3 separate regions of the Homo sapiens genome follow, and all the other regions are linked to region 1. Evidence: promoter capture Hi-C in 16 types of primary human blood cells and fetal thymus (Javierre and others, 2016). All regions are on one chromosome and are shown on one strand. Each heading gives the region's core, a stretch centred on a gene start or on the middle of the fragment in contact. The rest is flanking DNA. Distances are from core to core; before and after follow the strand shown.

Region 1 (4,828 bases), core at 1,676-4,175:
TACAGTGTTTATAAAGTCTACAGGAGTGCACAGTGAGTCTCAGGCCTTCACATTCACTCACCACCCACTCACTGACTCACCCAGAGCAGCTTCCACTCCTGCAAGTTCTGTTTATTACACCATTTAAAAAATCTTTTATACTGATTTTTATTGTACCCTTCTATGGGTTTTTTGTTTGTTTTTTGCTTTCTTTCTTTTTTTTTTTTTTTTTTAGGAGACAGAGTCTCACTTTATTACTCAGGCTGGAGTACAGTGGCATGATCATAGCTCACTGCAACCTCAAACTCCTGGACTCAAAGAGATCCTTCTCTTTCAGCCTTCCAAGTACCTTAGACTACAGGCACATGCCACCGTGCCTGGCTGATTTTTTCCTTTTCTTTTTTCTTTTTTTTTTCTTTTTTTGAGACGGAGACTCGCTCTGTCGCCCAGGCTAGAGTGCAGTGGCGTGGTCTCAGCTCACTGCAAGCTCCACCTCCCGGGTTCACGCCATTCTCCTGCCTCAGCCTCCCGAGTAGCTGGGGCTACAGGCGCCCATCACCATACCTGGCCAATTTTTTGTATTTTTTAATAGAGACAGGGTTTCACCGTTTTAGCCAGGATGGTCTTGATCTCCTGACCTCGTGATCCACCCACCTTGGCCTCCCAAAGGGCTGGGATTACAGGCGTGAGCCACCGCGCCCGGCCAATTTTTTTTCTTTCTTTTTTTTTTTTTTTTTGGTAGAGACAGGGTCTCACTATATTGCCCAGGCTGGTCTCAAACTCCTGGGCTCCTGCCTTGGTATCCCAGAGTGCCTGTTCTATGTTTACATAGATACACAAATACTCACCACTGTGTTACGATTGCATACTGTACTGTATTCAGTATGGTAACAGGCTATACAGGTTAGTAGCCTAGGAGCAATAGGCTATACCATATAGCCTAGGTGTATAGTAGTCTGTACAATCTAGGTTTGTGTAAGTATAGTCTATGATGTTTGCACAATGACAAAATTGTTTAATGGCATATTTCTCAGAATGTGTCCCCATTGTTCAGTAACATGTGACTCTACAACAATTCACTCTCCAAAATAAAAGACTTGAACAAATAGATAAACATATCCTGTTGCTGGTTAGGTACACTTCATGTTAAAGAGAACGTAACAATACATAAAAATAAATAGGAAAAAATATCAAGTAATGTGTGCAGGGATTCTTGATCTTGCCTGCATATTAGAGTCTCTTAACTTATAAACTAACACCAAAAATTCCAAGGTAGGGTACCACTGCAGATCGATTAAAAAAGAATCTCTGGAAAATAGTCCAGGTGATTCTGATGTCAGCAAGGGTTGAGTGCTACTGTGATATAAAGGGAAAAGGTGTAGTGGAAATACTAGCTGTAATGGAATTAAAAATATATCTTAAAGTATAAAATGTATTACAAAATATTCCACTGAGCCAGGCCAGGCATGGTGGCTCACACCTGTAATCCCAGCACTTTAGGAGGCCAAGGTGGGCAGATCACTTGAGGTCAGGAGTTAGAGACCAGCCTGGATAACATGGTAAAACCCCATCCTACTAAAAGTACAAAAATTAGATGGGTGTGGTGGTGCATGCTTGTAATCCCAGCTACTCAGGAGGCTGAGGCAGGAACCTCCCCTGAACCCGGGAGGCAGAGGTTGCAGTGAACTGAGATTGTGCCACTGCACTCCAACCTGGGTGACAGAGCAAGGCTTCTCCCCCAAAAGGAAAAAAAAAAATGTGAGCCAAATTTGTTTAAGCCAGATGGAACAAAAGCAATGTAAAAATATTTTTTTATTTACTAAATGCTGTTGAAATACTGCATTTTATTTTGGAATATAATCAAAAATTTGGATACAAATTTCATATATACCATAACAAATTACAAATTGGTTAAAAAGTGAAAAATTGGAATAATTTAAAAACAACTTTATTGCAGAAGATGACTATTTTTTTTAAAGCTTATTTTAAAGGGTTAGGAAGTGGTGTTTGAATTAGACTTATTCTCCAGAATTATTGGGATTCTCAGAGTAATGAGAATAAGAGACCTGCAACTGGATAAACTGCTGATGGAAAGAGTGTTTGGAAGTTTCTTCGTCATTAACAGCTGTTAAAGGAACAAGTTTCCCCTCAAAAAAGACCGATCTTCCCTCAGCAGTACTCTTGCAACCAAAGGAAAAATTACATCTCTGAAATATTTTCCCCACCAAATTTGAAATGGAATCTGGAAGCAAGAATTTGTACTCTATTGCAAATATTATTTTGCCTGACCCCAAAGGGAGAGACAGAGAATGTACTCTTGCCTTGCAAGGGTGAGAGACTCAATCTGTACTCTGGCAGGCACTCCTAGAATTTTCTGCCACAGACTGTGTTTTTGGCACAGTGTGTGGCCACTGGTATTGGGCCAAGTGAAGATTCAGAGGGTATGACCGTGCCCAGGGCTGTGGGCAGGGCTTATTCTGTTCTCTCTGGGAAACAGATTTCCTCCCCTACCTGAGGGAGAGAATCAATCATCATCTGTCTAGTTTCTCATTTGGAGAGTTCCAGAGACCCATCCTGGGCCCTGGAGGCTCAGAGGCTTACCTTGTTGGACTTGAAGTTCAGACGCAGTGATGAGTTTCACCCAAGGAGCTACCCAAACCCATCCCTGCTGCTCTGAACAATATGAGAAGTATTTCATGAGGAAAATAATGTGCTAATGTCAGTGGATTATTTAAACAGGGAGATACTGCTTGGACACTGGCTCACTGGGAATGTTTTAGATAGGCTCTTTTGGTTCAAGAGAATTTATTTTATGTAACAGGGATTCTTTATAAAGATGCATTTGCTTAGAAATCTAGAAAATGCCAAATAGCCAGGCTTCATAGAGGAAAGGGGCCCACACAGAACTGGGTCTCATAGCCAGAATCAGAATCCAGGCAGCTCTAAGAACCTGAGGAACTGTGGTAATGGGTTTTTGTTCTAGGGCTCCATCATTAATGGGTCTCAGCTGTTCCCCAAGCAGCTGTCTGTACTTCTCTTTGTGTCTACTTTTCTGCCAGCTTCCACTGGTGTTCTTCCTTCTACTCTATATAACTCTTCTCTGCCTCACAGTGTACATCCTTGTTACAGCTTCTGCTTTCTCAGAACATTGAGCTTCCATGGCCCCTGTTGTGCCTTATCACCCTGCTCCTTCAGGCCTTACTTCGCACCACTCACTACATAATTCTCTCAGTATTTCTCAGTTCAAAGCTGTGAAAAATTTGATTGCCCAGATCCTCTTTTTGCCCCAAGTCATGTCATAGGACACTGGCCAACTTAAGGTTTGGCAGTTCTTGGGTGAGCTGCCCAACCTTAGTCTAATCAACCTAATGCAGAATGGGTCAGCTGGGGGCACTCTTTCAGTAGGAGCTGTGGGTCAGTCTTCCTTAGAAAGGGCTCTGATGTAGCAGGCATCTGATCCACATGACAAATGGATGAATGGATGGATAAGTAGATAAAAAGCAGAAAGGTATATTAGATAGAGAGAGAGAGAGAGATAGACAGATAGATAAATAGATAGACAGACAGAGATACTTAGATAGACTGACCAGCATATTTGTCCTTAGAGAAGTAGGGAGAGATTGTGGGCTGAACAACTGAGCAAGGCGGGAACGGCATTCACGTGTTGAAATATTTTATTTTATTTTTATTATTATTATTTTTGAGATGGAGTCTCACTCTTTTGCCTGGGCTAGAGTTCAGTGGTGTGATCACACCTCACTGCAACCTCCGCCTCCTGGGCTCAAGCAATCCTCCCACCTCAGCCTCCAGAGTAGCTGGGACCACAGGCACACACCACCACACCTGGCTAATTTTTTTGTATTGTTGGTAGAGATGGGGTTTCACCATGTTGCCCAGGCTGGCCTTAAACTCCCAAGCTTAAGCAACCTGCCTGCCTTGGCCTCCCAAAGTGTTGAGATTATAGGTGTGAGCCACCGCACCCAGCCAACACGTTGCAATATGTTAAAGAGATCTGATCCCCACCCTTAGGAACCAAGTAATGGACAGGTCCTGGTTGGGCCAGCGATTAATGCTAAGTTTCCTTTTAGAGAAATAAGATAGATTTCTCCCAAATTCTTCCACACAATTCTGCCTATTTCTTCATGTAGGGCTTAGTATTCTCCAGAATTTTCCTATTAGAATCTGCCGTAAATTACTTAGAATGGAGCCTAATTTGTGGTAACCACTCAGCAAATGAGCGGTTATTATTATAATCTTCATTAATTGAACAAATATTTGAGCAGCATATTACTTGTGGGCTACATTTGGCTGCATGTAATAGAATCCCAAATATAGAGGTTTAACCAAATAGGGTAACCACCCCTGTTACATCCCCAAATGAACAGATAATAACATCTCACCACCTTCATATAATAACAAGTTTGAAGGCAGGTAGCCCAGGGCTGGAATGACAACACACAATTCCTTCTCCTTCTTTCTGTTCAGCCATGTTCAGACATGGTTTTCGTCTTCATCTTTCGTCTTTGTCACCACATAGGCAAATAGCCCTAATCCTTGTCACTTCTAGCCACCCTAACCACATTCGAGGTAGGAAGAAGGAGGAAAAGAGGAGGAAGGGACAGTTCTCTTCACACTGTAAACGTTTCTCAAAAATGCCCTAGCCTATCTCATTGGTCAGGATTGTCTGGCTGATACTTGGAGCTGCAGGGGAAGCTGGGCACAATGCTACCCTAAACAAAACCAGGATTCTATTGGTAAGGAAGAGAAAAATGAATATAGGGTAGGAAACTAGCAGTGTCTCATCCAGCTCAGACACTGAGAAGCACAGTGCCAGCCCTCAAAAACAGGT
Region 2 (4,561 bases), core at 212-2,711, 520 kb before region 1:
GGTTGGGAAAGAAAAGTATGTTTATGTACATGTGTACACACACACAGATACAAAAAAATATACTTAAGAATATCAGATATATGTTAAATGCTAAATAGATGACACAGATAAGAATACAGGCCATAAAGTCAGAGGACTGGGCTTCTCTGAACCATTTTTCTTGCTGTAAACAAAATAGCAATTCCTACCTCCTAGAATGATTCTATTTAGAAGAGAAGGCAGCCACCAAGATGGTCTTAAAATGTAGTATAAGTGTAGAGCTGGGCCTTAAATAACCATTTGGAGACCTCTTATCATGCTCCAGGAATTGTTCTAATTGCTTTCATGTATTAACTCATTTAATCATTCCAACAACTCTAAGGAACAGATACTATTATTTTTTTCCCAATTTGAACAATGAGCATACTTAAACTCTGGAGAATGTAATTAGCTGGCACAAAGTCACACTGTTAAGTATAAAGCAGGGGTTCAAACTAGAGCCACCATCTGCCTTAAAGCATTTAACTACGATATGAAACAGCTTCGGCACACCTTCAAAGGGTAGGATTTACACAGACAGGTTGAAGGAGACATAACCACCTACCCCAAAATCAATTGACAAATGTGCCTAAGGCAGAAGGTGAGGGAGTGCAGTTGGATTGCGTAATTACCCTGAAAAACCACCTGTTATGGAAACCATCTGTAAACTTTCTCGAGTGTTTCTCCTATAATTCAACACTTCTCCCATCTTTACATTAAATTCATGAAATTTGACACAAAAAGACAATTATTTATCTATTTTAAGGCTACTACCCTGTTGCCAGGCCACCGGGTCCGGCCCAGCCTTGATTCTTCGGGAATCACTTCTCCCTCGCCGCGCCTGTTACTGCCTCCACGGATCACTGTGAGGAAAATAAATGAAAAGGAAATTCAGTGCGATCCTGTTGCGGCTGATCCTAAATGTCTGCAGTTGCTATCTCCGAATCCTCTTTCTCCTCCCCACTACACATCCCCTTCTCCAGTCCTAGGACCACAAGAAACTTCCTCTGGTACAAAAAGGTCAGAAAACGATTACTGAGGTAACAGCGTCGCTTCAAGTCTAAGGACCGAGATTCTGGGGCCTCTGGGCTCCTTTACTCCAGATTCTAGACCCGGCTTTCGCGCTACCAGGCCTTGGATAAGACACTAGGCCCTGTGCCTGGACACTGCACCTCCCCAGGCCTCAGTTTCCACACCAGATCTCTACAGAGTGGGCGTGAGGGCAGGCCGATTCTCCCGTTAAGAGCTCTTACAAGCCGGCTGACTTCGTCCAGGAGCCTGGGGTCCTGGCCTCCTGGTAGGCGCCCTGGGGCCCTCTCCCTCCCCAGCCACCACCTCAGATAAGTTACCTCATCCTCGCTTCGCGTTCTTCCACTAAAGAACCTGGGGCTCCCACGCCGCACTACAGCGCCGCGGCCTTCCGGGGCAGCGTGCGTCGCGACGCGGGAAGGGGCCTGGAGGCGGGACTAGGAGCCTCGGAGTCAAGGGGCGGAGCGCCCTTTGCTAATAAGCCAATCAGAACGTGAGACGCTCCGGTGGGGCGGTGCGCGTCGAGCGCGGGGTGGAGTCTGGGTGACTTGGCTGGCGGGATCAAGTGCAGCTGCTTCAGGCTGAGGTGGCAGATAGTGAGCGCTGGTGGCGGAGTTAAAGTCAAAGCAGGAGAGTAATTATGAATAGCGCAGCGGGATTCTCACACCTAGACCGTCGCGAGCGGGTTCTCAAGTTAGGGGAGAGTTTCGAGAAGCAGCCGCGCTGCGCCTTCCACACTGTGCGCTGTGAGTGAGGACCATCCGGGGATAGAGGGGGAGCCTCCCGGGATGGGGGTGAAGAGGCACAAACCCCTCTGGGTTTTGTTCCCACAGTACCCCTTACACTGTTGGAGACTACGGGGCGGGGAGGGGGGAGGCAGCGCGATCCTCTAACCTGCTCGGAGTCTTAGGGGGTCGGTGGAAGGAATCGGAGTAGAGCAAATGTGGGTAAACCCTGGACAGAGAGCGTTGAGACCAGCAGACAGGAAGGGAAAGTGTGAAAAAAGTCTGTAGAGGTGACTGTGGAGACAGACGTGACAGGTGGATGATGCAGGGGTGGACAGGAAAATAATAAGGTGACAAATGGGAAGGGACTAAGGACCGAATGCCGGGGAACTTGAATGCCTTGAGGCTGGTGGGGCAATATTCTCTCTTTTCATCACTTTTTCTCACCTCTGGCAGATGAGGGTTCTTATTTGGTGTGTTCTTTGCAAAGGGAGAAATTCTCAACCATCCCAATGATCTGTATATCTCTTTGGACCCCAGATTTCACTCAGTTATCAAATACTGATTATCAAAGTATTCGAGGGTGTGTTATTAATTTCTTTATTTGGAAGATGCTTACCTCCCTATGATTTCTACCCTTTGGTTTTCTTTATGTCCTCTGGAACTAGTTTTAATAAATTATTCTCTTTTATGTTGTTGGAGTAGAAAAAGGAGCTCTTTTGCTTTAGCAGTTGGATGATATAGATTCCAGGAAGGAAAATATAGCATATAAGTTTTTATGTGTAAGACATTCGTTTTTTGCATAACAACTGTCATAGAATTGTAGAGCGGGAAGGAAACTTCAAGATCACTGAATTATAACTTCTCATTTTTCTGTGGTAAAACTGTAAGTATTTTTTCACTTCCTTTCCCCAGCCTTGCCCTTCCTTAATATCTCATCATTCCGCCTTTCTCAGTCATTCTGTTCTCGGGTTGTTTAGAGACCTTTATGGTTTTTACTCTGAAATGTTCCATGGTTCAATCAAAACAACTAATTAAAGCATACATTCTCCCAAAAGTTTATTTAAGTTGTAGACAATTTAGTTATAGTTACTCAAAGTAAAGGTATGAAGAACCACTGGTTTTAACCCTGCAAGAATATATTTACTAAAAGGGTTTTTTTAAAGCAAAATTAACATCCAATTGGTAGAATAAATGGGTGAGATATTTGTGAACAGAAACTCTTCAACAGTGTCCCTTGTTTATTCTTCTTTATCATATACTTTCTCATCCAGAGCTCCCCACGATGAGATGGTGCTGTGCTGGCTCTGCAGTTTCTCTCTCTTCAGTCCCATTTTCCGGAAGTGTGATATGCGTCTTTATCTGGTTTTTCCATGCCTTTTTCTCAAATAGTATCTACTCTCTCCTTTTCTCTTCCTTCTCAGGTATGCAATAGTCTTAATATTAATTTTTCAAGTTACAAGGGCTTAAGATTATAAAAATTTGCTTAAGAATATATTTCTATATGATTTGGGTATATATTCTCTTATGTAGGGCACAAATCCCAATTTAAATGAATAAAAAATTGCCTTTGAAAATAATCTTGCAGGTCCTTCACAGCCTTTCATTTATAAAGGTTCTGAAAATGCCAGTATCTTGAAAGTCAGAGGATCAGATGATCCAGCTACCAGAATGAAAATAAACAAAAATAAGCAAAACAACAATAATGACAATAATAAATAAACAAACATACATGTTTGAATACACACTTAGTCCTGTGGAAGACAGAACTATTAGAAAAGTTTTCAGTCCTTATTTTCTTTTATTGTTGTTGTTGAAGCAGGTGTGGTAATGGCACAGAATCATTTTAGATTTATTTAAATAAAACTGTTTATTATTCTTGAGGACAGGTTCATTTCCAATGTAATCCTCACTCTTAAGAACTCAGAGTGAGGTTTGAAAATTGTAGAATAGTATGAAGCTGATGTTCATGCAGATAAGGGGGACCTAATTTATAACCAACCCTCAAGCCAATGTCATTGGAGAGAAAGTAATATTCTGCCTTTATTTACAGGAGCAATTCTGCCTGTCTGATATAAGACTTCAGGCAAACCCGGATGTGAATCCTGGTCTCCACCACCTATATATATAATGTGACTTTGGGAACATTCTCTAAGCTCTCAACCTCAGTTTTCTTATGGCTAAAAGATAATAGTAATATTTACATTTCATGGTTTGTGTAAGGATTAAATAAGATAGCATAAACAACCTGGAACAATATTTGCCACAGGGTAGAGAATAAATAGTAGTCACCATTAATGTTGAAGAGTTATATTCATATGTGTACGAGGGGTGCTAATGAATGTAATTTAGTCAGACTTTGAAACAGCATTTATCAGAGTTTAGCAATAAAAACTATCAAAAAGATAGTCTGGCATGTGGTAGGAAGGGCATGGGATGTTCTATCAACGATAAGCTGAATGCTTAGCAACAGGTGCTTTACCGGGTAGAAGAGTTTCAATAACAGGACCTACTAGAATCAATTTTGAATTGGGAGTAGTACTAGTTTTACTATTTATATCCAGATAAGGCAATGAATTGTGAAATCCTAAGTTTGTAAATGACACCACTTTTTTGTGTCCTTAAATGATGAGCTAATGAGCAGTGTGGGTTTTGGAGTTGGTTGAATTCATTCAAATCCCGGAAAATAAACTGATGATAATAATTGTGGATTCTTATGAAAATATTGGCATTATGTGATGTTACAGTTAAAATAATCAGAAAAGCGATAAACATTGGCAGAAAAGGTA
Region 3 (5,097 bases), core at 212-2,711, 760 kb before region 1:
CAAGAAAACTATTAGAACTAATAAACCAGTTCAGCAAAGTTTCAAGATACAAGATCAGTGTAGAAATTTTTTACAATTTTCAACTGCTATTTGCTCATTCCAAATAAGTTTACCTCCAAGGACATATATGTATGAAGAATCCAGGGGAAAGGTTAATTCGATGGCTGTTAATCACAGCCAAATTTAGCACATCTGCTGTTAGTCAAAATACATTCAAATACATTCAAATAACAGCTGGCATTGTGGAGCACTTGGCATGTGGTACATATCATTCATGTGCCTTATGTGTACTGACACAGTTACCTGTGGTCGCACCAAGTATCATCGCCATTTCACAATGGGGAAAACTGAAATAGAAAATGGTTAAGTAAATTTGTCAAAATCACATACCTAATCCCAGCACTTTGGGAGGCTGAGGTGGGAGGATCATGAGGTCAGGATTTCGAGACCAGCGTGACAAACATGGTGAAACCCCGTCTCTGCTAAAAATACAAAAATTAGCCAGGTATGGTGGTACGTGCCTGTAATCCCAGATACTCAGGAGGCTGAGGCAGGAGAATCACTTGAAGCCAGGAGGTGGAGGTTGCAGTGAGCCGAGATCACGCCACTGCACTCTATCCTGGGCAACAGAGCGAGACTCTGTCTCAAAAAAAAAAAAAAGAAAAAGAAAACACCAAAGCCGGGATTCTATATTTTTTTCACTCACAAGATCCTGAATGAGTTTATCTGAAGATGATAAGATAAAGAACGCTAGACTGAGAGTTAAACAAGCTCTCTGGGGCTTTCCTCTGGCTCTTCCACTAACGAGATGTGTGACCTTGGATGAGCAATTTCCCTTTTCTGAATCTCTGTCTCCTCATCTGTAAAAAGAGGGAGCTGGACTAAATGACAGCTAAAGCCTCCTACAACCTCTAATTCTCTCACACTGGATTTACTCTACACCTGGTATCTGAATTACAAACTCTCCCTTTTCCAGGAAAGATGAAAGGACCAGGGGAGGACAGACACTTACTTGTCACGACAAGAGATAGGAGAAACTGAAGCAGGACACCATGTCATTTGCACAAGTTGCTGCTTCAGCCAGTGATGGGTTTAGGTGAGGAGCATGGTTATAATTAGAGCAGCAGCCAGTCCTGAAGGCTGTGCCAGCCTCCTTCAGCACAGCTGGGCCTGCCGACTGCACATGCAGGAATCTGAGAGGCTGTTCTGGCCTTGAAAATGATCCTTCTTAAAAGGATTTTCCTCCTTCCTCAAGGGAAAGAAAACCTATTGATATAAAACTTCACTTCCCATTCAGTTTCCCCTGCTAAATGCCACTCCAGTAGAGACTGAGTGTTGATAAATACAGGGGAAGGAAAAAGTCGTAAGCTGAGCCTGGTCACATTGCCCCTTGTGATATCGTTTTATTTTTAACTTCGCAACACTTGGACTATTTCTGTTGAAGTTTTCTCTCCTTTCCCTGCCTTCCCAACAGAACGCTGTCCTCTACTGCAGCTGATGCAACCCAGCCACCTCCCGGCAATCCGCTTACTTGCAATCAAGGGTTCAGGTGCAAGCAGATGCTGACTCAGCCTGTTCCATTAAGGTAAGTATTCAAACAGGAGCAGGTGCACCATGACGAGGACATTCAGTGGTGAATATGCAGATGAAGCTGAGCCGCATATCACTTTTGTGTCCTGTGGAAGAGGATTGTTAAGCAAATTAGTTATGTAAAGATGTGGGGGAAAGGCTGGCACTGAGAATGAGATCCAGCCGTGTGTAAATTTCTGTTTCCATTTCAAGAGCAGGTAGAGTACTTGCTTTCTGACAGCTTAGGTTCTTTCTTCTATAATCAACAAGAGTAGTTATGATATCTGTAAAGTTACAACATGGTGATGGGTGGGGGGATCTGGGGAAGTGGAGGAGGTGGTGAGGAAACAAGTGGAAGGCCTAGAATCCAGGATTTCTATTCCCTTTTCTTTCTTTTTTGAGACAGTCTTGCTCTGTCACCCAGGCTGGAGTGCAGTGGCACCATCTTGGCTCACTGCAGCCCCTACCTCCCAGGTTCTAGTGATTCTCCTGCCTCAGCCTTCCGAGTAGCTGAGACTACAGGCACATGCCACCACATCCGGCCAATTTTTGTATTTTTTTAGTAGAGACAGAGTTTCACCTTGATGGCTAGGCTGGTCTTGAACTCCTGGCCTCAAATGATCCGCCCACCTCAGCCTCCAAAAGCGCTGGGATTACAGGTCTGAGCCACTGTGCCTGGCCCAGAATTTCTATTATTTATTTATTTATTTAATTCATTGTTATTATTTTTTTGAGACAGAGTCTCACTCTGTTGCCCAGGCTGGAGTGCAGTGGTGCAGTCTCAGCTCACTGCAACCTCCACCTTCTAGGTTCAAGAGAGCCTCCTGCTTCAGCCTCCTGAGTAGCTGGGACTACAGGCCTGTGCCACCACGCCTGGCTAATTTTTGTATTTTTAGTAGAGATGGGGTTTCACCATGTTGGCCAGGCTGGTCTTGAACTCCTGGCCTCAAGTGATCCACCCGCTTCGGCCTCCCAAAGTGCTGAGAATACAAGCATGAGCCGCTGTGCCTGATCAGAATTTCTGTTTTCTAAAGTCTAAATGCTGTGATCTTTTCTCCAGTCAACATTTGCTATGTTTGCTTGCAAGTCATTCTCATGTAGCTTAAAATTTCGTCTGCTGTGTCATACTACTGGTTAATAAGCACAACTGTATTTTCTGTATATACTATTCAAACTCCGCAGAGTTTAACACCTTTTTTTCGCCAACAATATTCTCTAAGTGTGGCCCTCTTCTCCCCAGCTCTCTTGAGTCCAAAATGCATCCATGAAATATAAGTGAAATATTTCTCAAGTTGAAAAACTTATATAGGCTTATGCACCAAAACCAAAGATTGTTACAAGCTTGAACAATTTTGCATATTCAGAGGGATAAAAGTAAAATGACTAATGATACTTGAGGTATCAAAAGTTATAACTTTAGACAGATAGTTTCTCGCTTCTGGAATAACTGTATAGTGTTGCATGCACTAAAAATTGGCAAGGTAAGGGAGCAGTGTTTATTTTCTTGTTTTTCACTGGTTCAAAGTTCAGCTAAGGACATCCTGGGAAGTGGCCTATGCAGCAAAAGGGATTCTGTACACTCTGACCTTTGATGTGTACAGGCTAAAGCCACCGATGCCAAGTAAAAGGAGACCTAAACTAACTATTCAGATACCTTAACTCCTGGTTCCTTCCTGCCTGTCTCTGTAACCTCCATATGTACCCCAAGACTCTGCTATAGGTGTCTGGGTTATCATTATGCCTGTTTCCTGGGCACAAGCAAATTCACTGTGTATAATCACCTAACTTCATTTAATTTTTCCAGGGCCTCCACAGCACCAAGGTCTCCAAGGTGTATGCTGGGATGCTGTCCTGGTGAAACTAGGGTGTGTTGGCTTACAAGTAACCAAGCAGACAGATTGAGTCCCAGCTACCCCTAGATAATCCAGTTACTTTAGCACTATCTTGGCCAATGCAACTGTAATTTAATAGAATAGTACTGATACAAAAGCACCAGATATAAGAATTAACTAGCTAATTCAATAACTAATAAGTATAAAGTTAGAGAGATTTCTAGTATAGGTGGAAAACTTCAGATTGTGAAGTGGAATGGATCTGGGAGAGGGTGGTTCTGTTTTAGGATACAGTGAAGGTACTGGAATCGCAGCGTCGAAGCCAAGGATTATGGAACCCAATGTGGGAATTAGCCTCAGCAAAGTGATTGTGTTAAAATCTCAAGAAGGCAAAGAGATTACTTTAATAATTATCTTTATACATTTTCTTTCCCTACAATTAAATATTTCCATAGCAGGGAAACAGGTCAACAATGCATAATTAAAGTAACTAATTAATTGGCTGGTTAACAGGTTAAGAGTTAAAAAATCTTTGACCTTTAACTTTTAACCTTGTCACTTTCACTGAAGTTAAAGCTCAGAAATAAATCATTATTGCCAGCGCCAGCCACATGAGGAGGCAGAATAGTTTAGTTACTGACATCATGTGAGGGGTGCTGAGAGGGCCCCTTGCCTAAAAATATCTCCCTGACATCAACCCTGTTTGCCTACTAACTTTAAAATTATAGAAAAGAATGTTAAAACTATTGTTTGTTAATCCCATTCTCTTTTGCTTGAGTCAGTGATTTAAATACACCTGCTATACGTGTTAGCATGACTTTGTTGACCAGCAACACTTGGTCACCACCTCCTCCTCCTTCTTCCACGCTTTGTCCTACTCTGCCCTTGGTACCATCTAAGCTGCCAACATGCCTTGGCTGTCACCACTCAGGTAGCTTTGTGTGGTGCTGTGATTTCTACAGACTCTTTCAATAAAACATCAAAGCACAATAGAAAAAAAGCACGTGACTAGAGCCAGAGACTCTGGGAGCATAGGCAAGACATTTCACTTCTCAGAGCCTCAGTTTCTCCTCTAGGAAACAAGGAGGTTAAAACAGACCCTTTCCTTTCAAAATGAGGTCCTTAGACCATCAGCTTCATCTGGATTTTGTTACAAGGAAAGAGTCTCAGGCCTCACCCTGGTCCCACTGGATCAGAATCTGCATTTTAAAAAGTTTGCCCGGGTGATTCCTTTGCATGTTGAAGTTTGAGAAGCTATGGAATATGGATTTCTTAATATCTGCCTGATCCAGATTTCGGATTCTGTGCCTGTCAAGTGTTTAAAAGAACAAGTACTTTAATCCCCTGCAAACAATCTGGCAGTGCTCAGATTATCTATTATAAATCCAGCCCACTGAGGTCTTTTCTTCAATGAGGCCTACATTAACCTAAGTTGAAATGATTTCCTTTTCACCTTAAAAAAAAAAGCAGCCCCAATTAGCATACATCTGACACCACTCTACTTTCTTCCTAAATTTGTTTCAAATTACTCTCGCAGCTTTTAAAATGCTGCCTTTTTAAGGGTTCAGTTTAATTCAGTTCAATCCTATTCAATGTTCTCGTTGACTGAGTGCTGGGGGCAGTGTTTGCTCTACTCACTCTCAGTCCCTAGAAGCCCATTTGGTGGGTCCTTAAGAAGTATTATCACCCTCTGTTG

What was found. The method cuts DNA at HindIII sites, captures the fragments that hold promoters and counts their contacts. A CHiCAGO score of 5 or more calls a contact.
Region 2: the fragment with the promoter of IQCB1 here is called in contact with a fragment that was not itself captured in region 1 in 1 of 17 cell types (M1 macrophages); the score reaches 5.1 in M1 macrophages.
Region 3: a contact is called between the fragment with the promoter of FBXO40 here and a fragment that was not itself captured in region 1, in 1 of 17 cell types (total CD8 T cells). The highest score is 5.5, in total CD8 T cells.

What each region holds. Positions count from the first base shown.
Region 1 is chr3:122,350,944-122,355,771 of GRCh38, forward strand. No RefSeq gene overlaps it. Among named protein-coding and RNA genes, the nearest start is that of CSTA, 28 kb to the left of the region's middle. The HindIII fragment of the contact is 1,938 bases long and covers 1,957-3,894 here.
Region 2 is chr3:121,833,599-121,838,159 of GRCh38, forward strand. It overlaps IQCB1 (IQ motif containing B1), which reads right to left and starts at 1,462. Exons shown (of 15, transcript NM_001023570.4): 1 at 1,368-1,462; 2 at 793-881. EAF2 (ELL associated factor 2) reads left to right here and starts at 1,611. Exons shown (of 6, transcript NM_018456.6): 1 at 1,611-1,793. The coding sequence starts at 1,688. The HindIII fragment of the contact is 9,498 bases long and covers 1-4,561 here.
Region 3 is chr3:121,591,918-121,597,014 of GRCh38, forward strand. FBXO40 (F-box protein 40) reads left to right here and starts at 1,462. Exons shown (of 4, transcript NM_016298.4): 1 at 1,462-1,585. RefSeq lists enhancers at 819-2,018, 832-1,482, 1,483-2,134 and a silencer at 1,405-1,699. The HindIII fragment of the contact is 3,467 bases long and covers 1-2,908 here.